2 separate regions of the Homo sapiens genome follow, and region 1 is linked to region 2. The links are contacts of gene promoters, found by promoter capture Hi-C in blood cells and fetal thymus (Javierre and others, 2016). All regions are on one chromosome and are shown on one strand. The core of a region is centred on a gene start or on the middle of the fragment in contact, and the rest is flanking DNA. Distances in the headings are between cores, read along the strand shown.

Region 1 (6,499 bases), core at 1,752-4,251, 44 kb after region 2:
TCCTGCCCTGTGACTTTGAACATCATACCTGTGCGGTCCATGTTCATTTTAATCTAATCCAAGGCCCGAAAACACGGCGAGTGGCAGAGTGACAGGGAGGAGGGTTTGCCGACTCCCGCTCCCTGGCAGACCGGACTTGGAAGTACAGAGTGGGGGGATCCACTTAGCCAGGTGGGGTCTGAGCCCAGGGCTTTATATGCATTGATCCTGGCCCCGCCCCACCTCCTGTACTGTGCTCACGCCGGAGACACTAATGGCCCTGTGTGACCGGGCTAACCAGGTCAGGTGGCAGTGCCCCCACTCACAATCCACGGAGCTACGACTTACTTGAGATCTGCTGGAGCAACGGGCTCCATGCCATACTGGCCCCCACGACAGCCACTCCCCCTCTGCATAGCTGGCTGTCTGCCTGCCTGCTGGCCCTGACTCTGCCCCCAGGCCTGCCTTTGAACAGTCTGAAAGTTTATCTCTCTCTGAGTAACTGTTGTCCCCGAGGCTCCCAAATGCCGCTCACCTGCTAGTCAGAAGCCCCTTGTTCCGAGTCTTTTCACCTCCCATCCAAGCTGGCTGCACAAACTAGGGCCATTAGGATACATTTGGGTGTCCTCAGGCCTGGCTGCAGGCTTGGTTGGGCAGCTGGCCAGCGAGACAGTGAGAAGCAAGGAGAGGTGTCTGATGGAATGAGTGCCTCATTTGAATGTTTCATTAACCCATACTTTTTGAGCAGCTACTATGGACTTGGCCTCTGCCCTCCAGGCCAGACACCTAGTTTGTCCAGACATCCATCAGGTGGACAGTGGGGTCCATTGAGCCAACCATATCTCTTCTTGCTTCCCCAGCCCTCTGCCTGGCCACACCCCTCCCTTCTTCAACCAGAACCAGGCTGAGGTTGCTCATGATCCCCCCACCCCGTGCCACACCACCTAGACCCTTGGCTGGGGAGACTCCACAAACCCTTAGGCATTCAAGTGCTGCCTCTCTCCCAACTAAGCCTTTCTCTGTGTGTTCACCCCTCACCTTTTCTCCCCTGAACTCCCGGACTTGCTGCCTGGATAATTTATTTTGGCACTGAAGCATTTAAGGCCTCTTGTGGTTATTCAGCCGTTTTGTGTGTGTACAACGTGTTTCTAGCAGACACTGAGCTCCTGGGAGGCGGGGCGTGTGGCTGGCATGTTTTTGCAGCTCCTTTAATGCCTGGTGCATTGCTAGGCACTTCATATTGAAAGCGAGGTCACTAGTGAGCTGGAATGGCAGATGAGACAGGGTTCGTCATTCGTCCTTCTGAGGACTCTAGGGTGCATCCTCAGTCCCAGTCCCAGACTCGGGTAGGGAGCATGAAAGGAATTACCTCTGGTGTTTCACATTTGGCCAGAGAGGTTGAGAATCTTGCTGAAGGTCACAGAGTGAGTGACAGGATAGGCTGAGGATTAACCCGGGTGTCCCGGGCTCAGGCTGAGGCTCCAGGTGTCTCCTCAACTGTGACAACCCTTCCTGGGTGTCTGCGTGTCTTCCTTCTGCCTATCACCATGTGTGTGACTGGGAATGCGTGCATTTTTCTCTCTCTCTCTCTCTCTGTGTGTGTGTGTGTGTGTGTGTGTGTGTGTGTGTGTCTGGAAGGAAGCAAGAGTAGCCAACTGTTGTCCAAGAGAAAGCTGCCAAGTCCACAGAGTAATTGTGGAATACATGTGACGTTGTGTGGGGCTTGACGACCGGGTGTGCCTGTGAGGCCTTGGCGATCGCCCTCTGACATCCGCCAGCATTGTCATGCTGCTGGCCTGGGCCCGCTAGGCTTGCATTGTAGCCTAGGTCAAGATGGGCCATGCAGCTCCCAGCAGGAGATAGGGCGGAACCCACACCACAGGCCTCCCATTGAGTTTGTGGCCCCTGAATCTGAGACCCAGAGCTGGGGCTATGGGTTTCACGTGGCCCTTTCCTGGGGCCCCTGCCCCTGGGTGCATTTCCTCCTGGAGCCTTTGGGGCAGGGTCCTCCCCATGGGCCTGAGCATCCAGCAACCCCTCCGCACAAGCTTGCTATTCCTGCTCCTCCTCTCCCTGGTGTCCCATGTTTGGAGGACTGGATCGAGGGGCTCAGTGATAAGCCAGCTGCCTCACATCCCACCCTGCCCTGCAGCCCGAGGAGCTTACCAACGCCCTAGAAATCAGCAACATCGTCTTCACCAGCCTCTTTGCCCTGGAGATGCTGCTGAAGCTGCTTGTGTATGGTCCCTTTGGCTACATCAAGAATCCCTACAACATCTTCGATGGTGTCATTGTGGTCATCAGGTATGACTACCCCCCGGCACTGACTCTCAGTTGAGGAATGGTAGCAGGGGTGGCTTGGGGCCAGGGGCCATGCCACCTATTCCCCTGGGGTGGAGGGGTCTGGAGTCAGGCCCCACTGACCCCACAGGACCTGCCACTCCTCCTAGGTGGGGGGCTCTCTGTGTCCCCATGCCCCCTCCATCTCTCTCTTGGCCCCACCTTGCTCCTGTTGACCTTGGGCTCACCTCTTCATTGCCCAGGCCCCTCTTTAGTCTCCTCTCTCCACTTCTACCTCTTGTCCTTGACCCCACCCAGGCCTGGGATGGGCGAGGGTGAGATTGGCTTTAGAGGAGTTGGAAGAGGTATGAGGCCCAGCCAGCTGCCCGGCTCGAAAAGTGCTTGGAAATCATCTCAGACACCAGCAACTTGCTTTAGGGTTTCCAAGACCTTGGGAAAGTGCTCCGTCCCCGCAAGGCCTGGGGCCAGGAGAACCACTTTATTGCTTTTGGAATTGGCTTTAGATTTCATTAGAAGAGAACAAAGCAAATATTCCATAACTTGATGCAGTTGCATTGGCCAGATTTAGGGAGGGAGTTGTCTACTGCCAGGATGTGATCTCTGGCAGGGAGGAGAGGGCGGAGGGGGCCGGGGCTGTCACCCAAATCCTCACTATCTTGGAGGCTCCTGCTTAGAGGTCTGGGGGCCCACCTGTGCCCCATTTTCTCTCGACGTGCCCACCCAGCCAGGCCCTTGGGTGCTACTGAGTCCTCTCCGAGGGAGTAGGGGGAGAGGGTGAAGGTGCAGGGGGCTCAGGCTGCCTGCCCCCTTTGCAGCGTGTGGGAGATCGTGGGCCAGCAGGGGGGCGGCCTGTCGGTGCTGCGGACCTTCCGCCTGATGCGTGTGCTGAAGCTGGTGCGCTTCCTGCCGGCGCTGCAGCGGCAGCTGGTGGTGCTCATGAAGACCATGGACAACGTGGCCACCTTCTGCATGCTGCTTATGCTCTTCATCTTCATCTTCAGGTGAGGGCGGCATGGCACCTTGCCGGCTGAGAGACCGGCCAGGCTGGGGGCAGGAGGGCCTGAGGGGTGAGGAGCACTGGGCTCTGATCCCTAGCTTGTGGCCCCCTTGTGCCCACAGCATCCTGGGCATGCATCTCTTCGGCTGCAAGTTTGCCTCTGAGCGGGATGGGGACACCCTGCCAGACCGGAAGAATTTTGACTCCTTGCTCTGGGCCATCGTCACTGTCTTTCAGGTGCGAGGGTAACAGGGCAGGGCGTGGACAGGGGCCGTCAGGTGCCCCTAGTATAGGCCCTGATTCCTGTCTTCTGCCCGCAGATCCTGACCCAGGAGGACTGGAACAAAGTCCTCTACAATGGTATGGCCTCCACGTCGTCCTGGGCGGCCCTTTATTTCATTGCCCTCATGACCTTCGGCAACTACGTGCTCTTCAATTTGCTGGTCGCCATTCTGGTGGAGGGCTTCCAGGCGGAGGTAACCCACTGCTCTGCCCACCTCACCCTGCCCACAGCAGTCCCACTTCCAATTGGCTGCCTGTCTTGAGCCTCCTCCCTCTGTTGCCAACTTTGGGGGCCTGGGAAGTCCCACAGGAAGAGCCTCTTAGACTAAGCCGGGGTGGACCAGGGCGGGAGGCTCCAGATCTCGTGCAGCCCCTCATCACATGGGACACAGGGTGGTTGTTTGGGGTCCCTCCACCAAAGCTTAGCTACCGAGTAGACATCCCCTTCAGAGTTGGCTAGACCCCTTCCCCAGAGAGGCAGACCAGATAAGTGTCTGCCTGTGGTGCAGCTGGACTCCTGAGCACAGTGCTCTATGGAACACCCGGAGAGGACCCCTCTGAGCCGAGGGGTGCAGGAGGCTTGTGTGCAAGTTATCTGAGCTCTGACTGAGCAGATGAAGATGCCACTAAGACCAGAGCAGGGCTGAGCTGCCCAGGGTGAGAAATGAGCCCAATTAGCTACGGGCATGGCAGAGATGAGCGTCCTATTTCCAGCCCAGGCTCCATCACCTTCGTCACAGGCAGCGTCATCAATTAATATTGATTTACATTGATCCTGCCCTTGCCATGTCAGCGAGCAGCCTCTGCCCAGAGGGCTGCACCCCCTCCTCTCCCTCAGCTCTGCCTCTCTTCCCACCCGAGCCCCCAGACCCACCCCAGCTTGCTGGGGCTTCAAACAGGGCAGTTTGACCCAACCTAGAAACGCTCCAGGTTGGGTCTGGAGAAGCTCTTGGTCCAGTTCTCTCTGGGTGACCCGGATGGAAACTCCCGCTGCGGCCTGGTCTATAAATACCTGGCACACGGTGGAAAAACAAAAATCTATTTTCCGACTCTTTCCCAGTCTTTCAAGGGAGGGCTTTTCCCTGTGGGCCGGCTGGGTTGGTGGGGTGCAGCGTATCTGTCCCACACTGGTCTTTCTCCCCGCTACCCTTTTCAGTCTGTAGTTATCCGTTATCGCATTTCCTCCCTCCTGTGGGGCAGCCAGGGCAGCTGGTGGGGGAGGCTTTGGTGATGGCTGTGCCTCTTGCAGGGAAGGAGGGAGGGACGCCGGTATGCTCCCTGGAATGGGACACTAATTTGGGGGTTCCCTGAGGCCTGAAGAATTAAGGGGCACCACAGTACTCCCACAAGAGCCAGTAGACTCACTCTGCTGCTGCTCAGGGTCTATAAGAGGAGGAGCTGAGTGAGGACCGGGCCCCCTGGCCCCTTCTGAAGGCAGCTCCTGCCAGCCACGGTTCCCTCAGAAAAATTCCCGTGCAACTCTGTGGAGGGAAATGGAAAACACCGCGGGCCTATTCCCCTCCCCTCCTCTGCCACTCAGCCGCCAAGGCAGTCTGGAGGTGCCCAGCACAGATGGCCCCCTCCCCAGCACTCAGCCCTTTCAGCAAACACCTTGTTAACTTGAGTGCAGCTGAGCGGCCTGGTTGCTAGGCAACAGCAAAGCCAGAGTGTGGGAATGAGCGCAGCCTGGCCCTGGGGCGGCCTGGTCACTCTGGCCCTGCTGGGGGCCTGGGACTGCCCCAGTGTGAGGGCTCAACAAGGCCCACGCAGCCACACCCTCCCCAACCTTCGCAGTATCAGGACCTTTGCAGGGAGGGTCTCACTCAGGATGCGGTGTCTTGGGCTGGGATGCTTCAGGCCTGGGGTGGGATGGAGAAAGGACTTTAAGAACATCCCCTCTCCATGGGAGTGGGCAGTGACTGTGGCCCCGGAGTGCCCATGGGAGGGGCTGGGCCAGTTGCTCCCCTGTCCTGCATGTGGTGGGCAGGGCTGGGGAGTGTCCTTCGATGCCCATGGCCTGGACAACTCCAAGGCACCTGCCCTCTCCTGGGTAAGGTTTCAGGGGGCCCCACGGTCTGGCAGGGGAGTCTGGTTTTGCTGTTGTGGTGGCCTGGGATTTTTGTTTTTATTTTGACAAATAAGACAACCCACCTTGGCAGAGGAAGTGGCTGCCCCCATTTTGGTGGGCTTCCCCAGCAGGAGGCTTCAAGGGTAGCCCCCCTGCTGGCCTTGCTACCTTGCCAAGAGCTAGGAGGGGGTGGTCCAGGGACACAGCCTGCTTGGCTGGTGATTTCCTGACTTGCAGGGGGCAGCGCCCTGAATCCCTGTGTATTTATCATTCACACACTTAATTAAATGAACAGGCAGCAGGCCCTGTGTGAGGCCATTAATTGATACTAAATAACATCAGAGCCATCATCTCAGCATTACTTGTCACATCCCATCTCAAACGGAGCAGCTGGATCTGTTCTGATCTGAAGGGACTTAAGCTGAGAGCATGAGACGTTATGAGGCCTGACTTGGCTCCGTGTTGACTCTGACTTTCGTCCATTCCTTTCCTTGCTTCCTACCCATTCCCCAAGCCCACTGCCTCCGAACCGGTGAGAGGAGAGTGGTGTTCTGAGCCACAGACTCGGGTTCCAGGCCCAGATCCACCTCTTACTCTGTATGATTTGGGGCAGTTTCCGCAACTTCTCCAAATCTCGGGTTTCTCTTGTGTAAGATGGCGATCCTGGAACCCACTTCCTACCTTGCAAGGAAGCCAGCTGGTGTTAAGGAGGCAGTTTCCCATGCCAGGCACACCCTTAATGAATGGTGGCTGTTATTATTAGGATTATGGGGGGACCTGCCCTTGTCCCCATCTTTTTGGCCTCTGCACTCACCCTTCAGATTCATTCTGGCCTGAGGGCCTGTAGTTGAATTCTGGAAGGCTGTTCTGTC
Region 2 (6,051 bases), core at 3,552-6,051:
TCACCAAGTGGACTTTTTGCGGGGTGTGGCGGCCGGGTCTCGACCACAGCGTGGATCACCGGCTGTTTAGGAAACTGCAGCTGCACAACGTGGGGTGCAAAACTGCCCCGCTTCCTTTACAGCTCTTCTCAACCCTCACCTCCATCCCCCGTCACCCAGGCACCTTCGCTTCCAGATGCTGCCAGGCTGTCACTCAATTCGGTCATTTCATTCATTTATCACACATGGGCACTGGGGTTGGGCTAACAGCAAGAGACAATAGGCCTTTGTTCCTATTTATTGGGTACTGCTTACGTGCTAAGCAGATCAGTTTATTTAATGCTTGCAACGACTCTCTGAGGTAGAAAATATTGTTAATTCCGTTCAGGATCCCGGCTACATAATCTGTGGGGCTCAATACAAAATAAAAATGTAGGGGCTCCTTGTTCAAAATCGTATGAAGAATTTCAAAACAGGGACAACAGAGCATGAAACCAAGCGCAAAGCCCACTGCAGTGCGATTGCACAGGTATCTCACCTTGCAGCCGGCACTACTCCCATTTTTCAGGCAAGGAAACCGTGGCTCAGAGAGGTTGAATGGCATGCTCAAAGTCACAAAGCTGGCATGGGGCGGGGCTGGAACTCAAGAGTCAGACAGTCTGGCTCCAAGGCCTGGAGATCCCAGGCTGGGCCCCAGATTTAATTCAGCAAATATTGACTGACTGCTGTGGACAAAGTGCTGGGCTCACCTTGGAGGGATCCAACCTCCAGGAGCTCGAGCGCAGCAGGGTAGACAAGCCAGGGGCACGTGATGCGGCTGTGGCAGAAGCCAAGTGCAGGAGCTCCCAGGCTCCTTTGTTTTACTGAGTCACCTTAAATGTAACTCTGCCCTCTCCCTTGCTTCGCCAAGGCTAGCGAGAAACTCAGTCTTAGCCACACAGGAGGAATCGGACCCCTTCTGGGGGTTTATGTGGAGTCTGGGAAACCAAGGGTGGGGTGAGGCCTGGTACTCAATCCAGGAGGGGCCCCTATGACCACCCTCGCCTGTTTTTCTTCTCAATGCTCCCTGATCACTGGACCACTGGACACTGATGTGTCCTCAGTGCTTGGGGTCTGGCTCTGCAGGCAGCCTGCAGCCAGCCTCCATCCCCCTTTCAGGGACAAATGGCCTTCCACCAGAGTCGGTGAGTGGAGAGGCACAATGCCACTCCCCTTCCTGAGGTGGGGGTAGGGGAAGGGAGTCCCACAATGCAGTTACAAACAGGATGGACAAGAACACCTGCTCAGGAGTCAGACTTACAGGGTTCAAAGTTCTGCTCCAAGGTTTGACCCTAACAAGAATCACTTAGTAATAAGTGGTTATGCTCTGTGACCTTGAGTAAATTACTTACCCTCTCCATGTCTCTGTGCCTGCGTTTCCTTACTTGTCAAACGGGATCAGAAGTTTCTTCCTTGTGAGGTTACTATGTGGATGTCCCCAGGCGTGTCCATTCAGCTCAGAGTCCACCCTCTTCAAAGACTGACCATGAGGCACGAACCCATCATGGCTTTCACTCCTGGTTTTGCCAGGCAATACCCAGAGTCCAGCACCCATCTATTAATATCTTCTGCTGCACCCAAACCTGGGATGTTCCATCCTTCTTGGCCCCTGATCCACCCTTTGTGGCCCTGCCACCCAGGCTCTCTTCTTCTAAACTGGATCCCCCCGAGGACTCCCAAGGGGAGCTGTTTTGTTTCCCACAAAAAAAGTTGGCAGCCTTGCTTCCTGCCTCCCTCCTTATAAGACCCCTCCTGCTAGGAGGTTGGTGCCATAAGTCATTCTGTCTCTTCCCTGCCTGGGGCTGCCACTCCACCTCACTTTTGGGATGCTTCGGTCTTGGCTCATGGTCTTCTCATCCAGCTCTTACCTCAATTTCAAGTCGCTCCATTATCCAAGGACCTTATGGCCCCTTGACCTCTCAATGACCCTCACCATGGTCACACTTGGAGGTTTGTCATCACCCCAGATTCCTCTACATTCAAGGCAGGCTTCTGGCTCTCTGAGCTTAACCTCATTCCTTCTAGCCAGAACATGTTCTTTGGAGCACCCACTGGACCCTCCGGCTAGCCAACCCTTCCAACAACCCGCCACACCCCACATTCTCAGAGTCACCCAGGACCACCATCTCTTCTATCCTTGATGGCGTCCACCACTTTCTCTCAAACGAATCCTTCCCATCGAAATGTGTCTTAATTAGCTCCATCCATCTTGACAGTGTCTTCCCATCTATCCTCTCATGTCAAGCACCCATCATCTCTCTCTGTCTCCCCTCCCTTTCCTCTTCCTCCTCAGCCGACTCGGCAACTTCTGCTCTCAGCCTGACTTCACTAGAACGACGCCCACTAAGCACACCAATGGCCTCCATGTTGCTGAAGCCAGTGGACATTTTTCTGTCCCAGCCAGGCTGGCCCCTCAGGAGTCTGACATGTAGGCACTCTGTCCTTCATCTCTGGGGTGCTGTCCTTTGCACCCTGGCTGCTTCCCTTCTGTGTCTTTCTTTCTTTCTTTCTTTCTTCTTTTTTTGAGACAGAGTTTCGCTCTTGTTGCCCAGGCTGGGGTGCAATCATGAAATCTCGGCTCACCGCAACCTCCGCCTCCCGGGTTCAAGCGATTCTCCTGCCTCAGCCTCCCGAGTAGCAAGGATTACAGGCATGCGCCACCATGCCCGGCTAATTTTGTATTTTTAGTAGAGATGGGGGTTTCTCCATGTTGGTCAGGTTGGTCTAAAACTCCTGACCTCAGGTGATCCACCCTCCTCGGCCTCCCAAAGTGCTGGGATTACAGGCGTGAGCCACCATGCCCTGCCTCCATCTGTGTCTTTCACAGGCTTACTTAAGCCTGGACCTGAGCCCTCTTCTCTGCTCCTCTGCATGGTCTCCCTGGATCAGCTCCACACCCACATGGTCTCAACAGTCAAGACCCCCAATCCTCTCTCCTGAAGCCTCTCCTCTGTCCTCCAAGCAGTGTCATCTCTGCCTCCATGTGCACATCTCAAACCCACAGGTCCCACAATGAACCCCATGAGTTGTCCCCCCACCCCCACCCCATGCCCTCTCTTGAGGGAACGGCCCCACCTTGCAAGTCACCCTGGACACCGCCTTCTTTGTCGCCGCCCATCCTGACGACGTTTCCTCCTTGACCGACTTCCAGCCCATCCCTTTCTCTGCATCTCTGCTCCCCCATCTCCCCCTGGGTGCTGCTATAGCCTCCTATCTGCCCCTGCTTTCACTCTTGCCCCTTTCCAGTTCATTCTCCACTGGGAAGCTGGTGGGATCTTTCCAAAACGCAGATCTAACTGGTAACCCTCCTGACTAAAGCCTTTCAATAGCTTGCTTCTACTGTCATCAAAAATCCCCTTCTCTGGCCAGGCACGGTGGCTCACACCTGTAATCCCAGCACTTCGGAGGCTGAGGCAGATGGATCGCTTGAGGTCAGGAGTTTGAGACCAGCCTAGGCAACATGGCGAAACCCCGTCTCTACTAAAAATACAAAAATTAGCTGGGCATGGTGGCGCGCTCCTGTAGTCCCAGCTACTTGGAAGGCTGAGGCACAAGAATCGCTTAAACCTAGGAGGTGGAGGTTGCAGAGAGCCAAGATCCACTGCACTCCAGCCTGGGCAACAGAGTGAGACTCTGGCTAAAAAAAAATGGGGTCGGGTATGGTGGCTCATGCCTGTAATCCCAGCACTTTGGGAGGCCAAGGCAGATGGATCACCTGAGGTCAGGAGTTCGAGACCAGCCTTGAACCCAGGATGCGGAGGTTGCAGTGAGCCGAGATCACACCACTGCACTCCAGCCTGGGTGACAGAGCGAGACTCTGTCTCAAAAAATAAAAATCCCCTTCTTACAGTTCACGAGTGTCTCCAAGATCTTGCCTCTGCCCTCATCTACTGCCTGTCTTCCCTCTTTCTGCAGTTGCTCAGCCCGGACTCACTGACAAGCCACGGGACCTTTGCACAAACTGTACCTCTGCCTCCTTCCCCAGCACTCCCCCTGAGCACCCTCCAAGTTCCTTTCTCTCGTTCTCCATGGCTTCACAAATGTGATTTCCTCAGGGAAGCCTTCATCCTTTGCCCCTTCCACCAGATCAGGTCACTTGTTACGTTATACCCTCACGGACTTGTCACGTGGGTGTTTATCGGTATGGCTGTCGAATTAGCATCTGCCGCTCTCAACAGACTGTGAGCCATGTGAGGGCAGGAGCCTTGTTTCTCTCTGCCCACCATTGTATACTCAGTGCCTTGCAGAGTGGCAGGCGGCAGGCACTTAATAAATATTGGCTGAATGTAGCCAATGAGGCCATGTGTAACCTATGAGACATAAAATGGGCTCATCAGTATTATTTAAGGAAGACTTCCTGGAGTGGGTAGGATTTGAGTAGGACCTAGAGACGAGGAGGCTGCAAAAAGCAAACCTTGTTAGCTGGTGGACCTGGCCAAGGTACGCCTTCGCCTTGGATCTCATTTCTCATTTGTAAAATGGGCAGGGGTTGGACAAAATGAGCTGAAGCTCTGGCATCCCATGTCCCTAGCATCTCCCAGCCCTAGATCCCACAACTCTCCCTATTCCCTTGAGAAGGGCTGTCCTCCCCAGGCAGGGGCAGAGCCCAGTTTTATGCACAGAATGGGTCCTCCCAAGGCTCGGGTGCCTGATCTGCAATTCTGCGCTCCGCCGCAGGGCGACGCTCGGAGACCAGCCACACTGTCCCAAGTCCCGGCGAAGACCCGCCCGCGGCTCCGTAGGTGCCCGGCCCGCCCCTCGCAGCCTCCTGACTTCCCTTCCTGTCCTCAGCGGCCGGGCCCACGGCCCCGAGCAGCCATGCTGGGCGCGCGGGCCTGGTTGGGCCGCGTCCTTCTGCTGCCCCGCGCCGGTGCAGGCCTCGCCGCGAGCCGCAGGTACGGGCGGGCGAGCGGGCCCCTAGGGCACTCCCTGCGCCTGCCTGCGGGCCCAGTGGAGGGTCTTCCGGACACCGGTCCCCAGTGCCAGTCTGGACCACCCCTGCATGCCTGGCCCTTCCCCCACCCCACCTCCGGTCTGCTCCTGAGACCTGGCTCTGGCTGTAAGGCCCTCCTCCCCTCCTCTCCCGTCCTCATCCCTTCCCTCCTCTCCCCTTCCTTCCAGTGCAGTGCCAGCTCCTCAGGGACTGTTCTGACACTGCTTCCAGGAAGCCTTCCTTGCACCCCAGTGCTGGATGCTGGGTCAAGGGCCTTTCTCCAATAGTACCCTGTGCCCTGTCACAGTCCTTTATTGCTGCATGGACCTTTCGTTATTTAGGTCTGCCTGCAGTCCCACTTCCAGGCTGAACTCCCTGAGGTCTCTGATTCCCTAGGTGTCCTGGAGTCTGGCCCAGGACCTGGCCCCACAGGAGTCCCAGCAGGTGGGCGCTGAGTGAGGGAGTCCCCATGTCTGGTTTCCTCTGTTTGTCCCTCACCTGGTCGAGTCCCAGACCCTACTGATCTTGGCCTGTCCAGCCACCAACAGTAGGCTGCCTTCCAGTGGGGCCACACCCAGGCCTGCCAGAGAGATGCCTCCAAGCAGCTGCTCCAGGAAGGGCCGGGGGAGGGGCCTGGGGAGGGGTAAGAATGGAGCCCCAAGAACCATTCTGCCCATTGTGACCCGCCCTGACCTCACAGCCATCCTTCCCACCGCCAGGCCCAGGAGGTTGGGGGAGACTAACCTGGCAAGGAGCCCCCAATGAGCCACCTCTCCTCACCCCCCAAAAAACATAAGGGGGAGCACAAAGGCCACAGTCTCCCCCATGGTTCAGAAAGGTGGGTTGGGCTGGGAGCAGGGGTCCTACTGGGGTGCTGAGTGAAATGGAGCAGGTGCTGGGGGGCCTGGGAGAAGGTGGGTGGAGGCCCCTGGCTTGCCTGATGCACCAGTCCTCGCCAGGGGTAGCTCCTCCCGGGACAAGGACCGAAGTGCGACGGTCAGTAGTTCAGTGCCCATGCCTGCTGGAGGGAAAGGAAGCCATCCTTCATCTACACCCCAGAGGGTCCCCAACCGCCTGATCCACGAGAAGTCACCATACCT

The links. The method cuts DNA at HindIII sites, captures the fragments that hold promoters and counts their contacts. A CHiCAGO score of 5 or more calls a contact.
Region 1: a contact is called between a fragment that was not itself captured here and the fragment with the promoter of SPATA20 in region 2, in 1 of 17 cell types (endothelial precursors). The highest score is 5.6, in endothelial precursors.

What each region holds. Positions count from the first base shown.
Region 1 is chr17:50,588,340-50,594,838 of GRCh38, forward strand. CACNA1G (calcium voltage-gated channel subunit alpha1 G) reads left to right here. Exons shown (of 38, transcript NM_018896.5): 10 at 2,132-2,283; 11 at 3,096-3,281; 12 at 3,400-3,514; 13 at 3,598-3,753. Among named protein-coding and RNA genes, the nearest start is that of CACNA1G-AS1, 29 kb to the left of the region's middle. RefSeq lists an enhancer at 4,555-5,363. The HindIII fragment of the contact is 1,953 bases long and covers 2,026-3,978 here.
Region 2 is chr17:50,542,373-50,548,423 of GRCh38, forward strand. It overlaps SPATA20 (spermatogenesis associated 20), which reads left to right and starts at 4,802. Exons shown (of 17, transcript NM_022827.4): 1 at 4,802-4,913; 2 at 5,348-5,395; 3 at 5,911-6,051. The coding sequence starts at 4,837. It overlaps EPN3 (epsin 3), which reads left to right. Exons shown (of 10, transcript NM_017957.3): 10 at 1-1,378. RefSeq lists an enhancer at 684-1,184 and a silencer at 4,812-5,081. The HindIII fragment of the contact is 19,639 bases long and covers 1-6,051 here.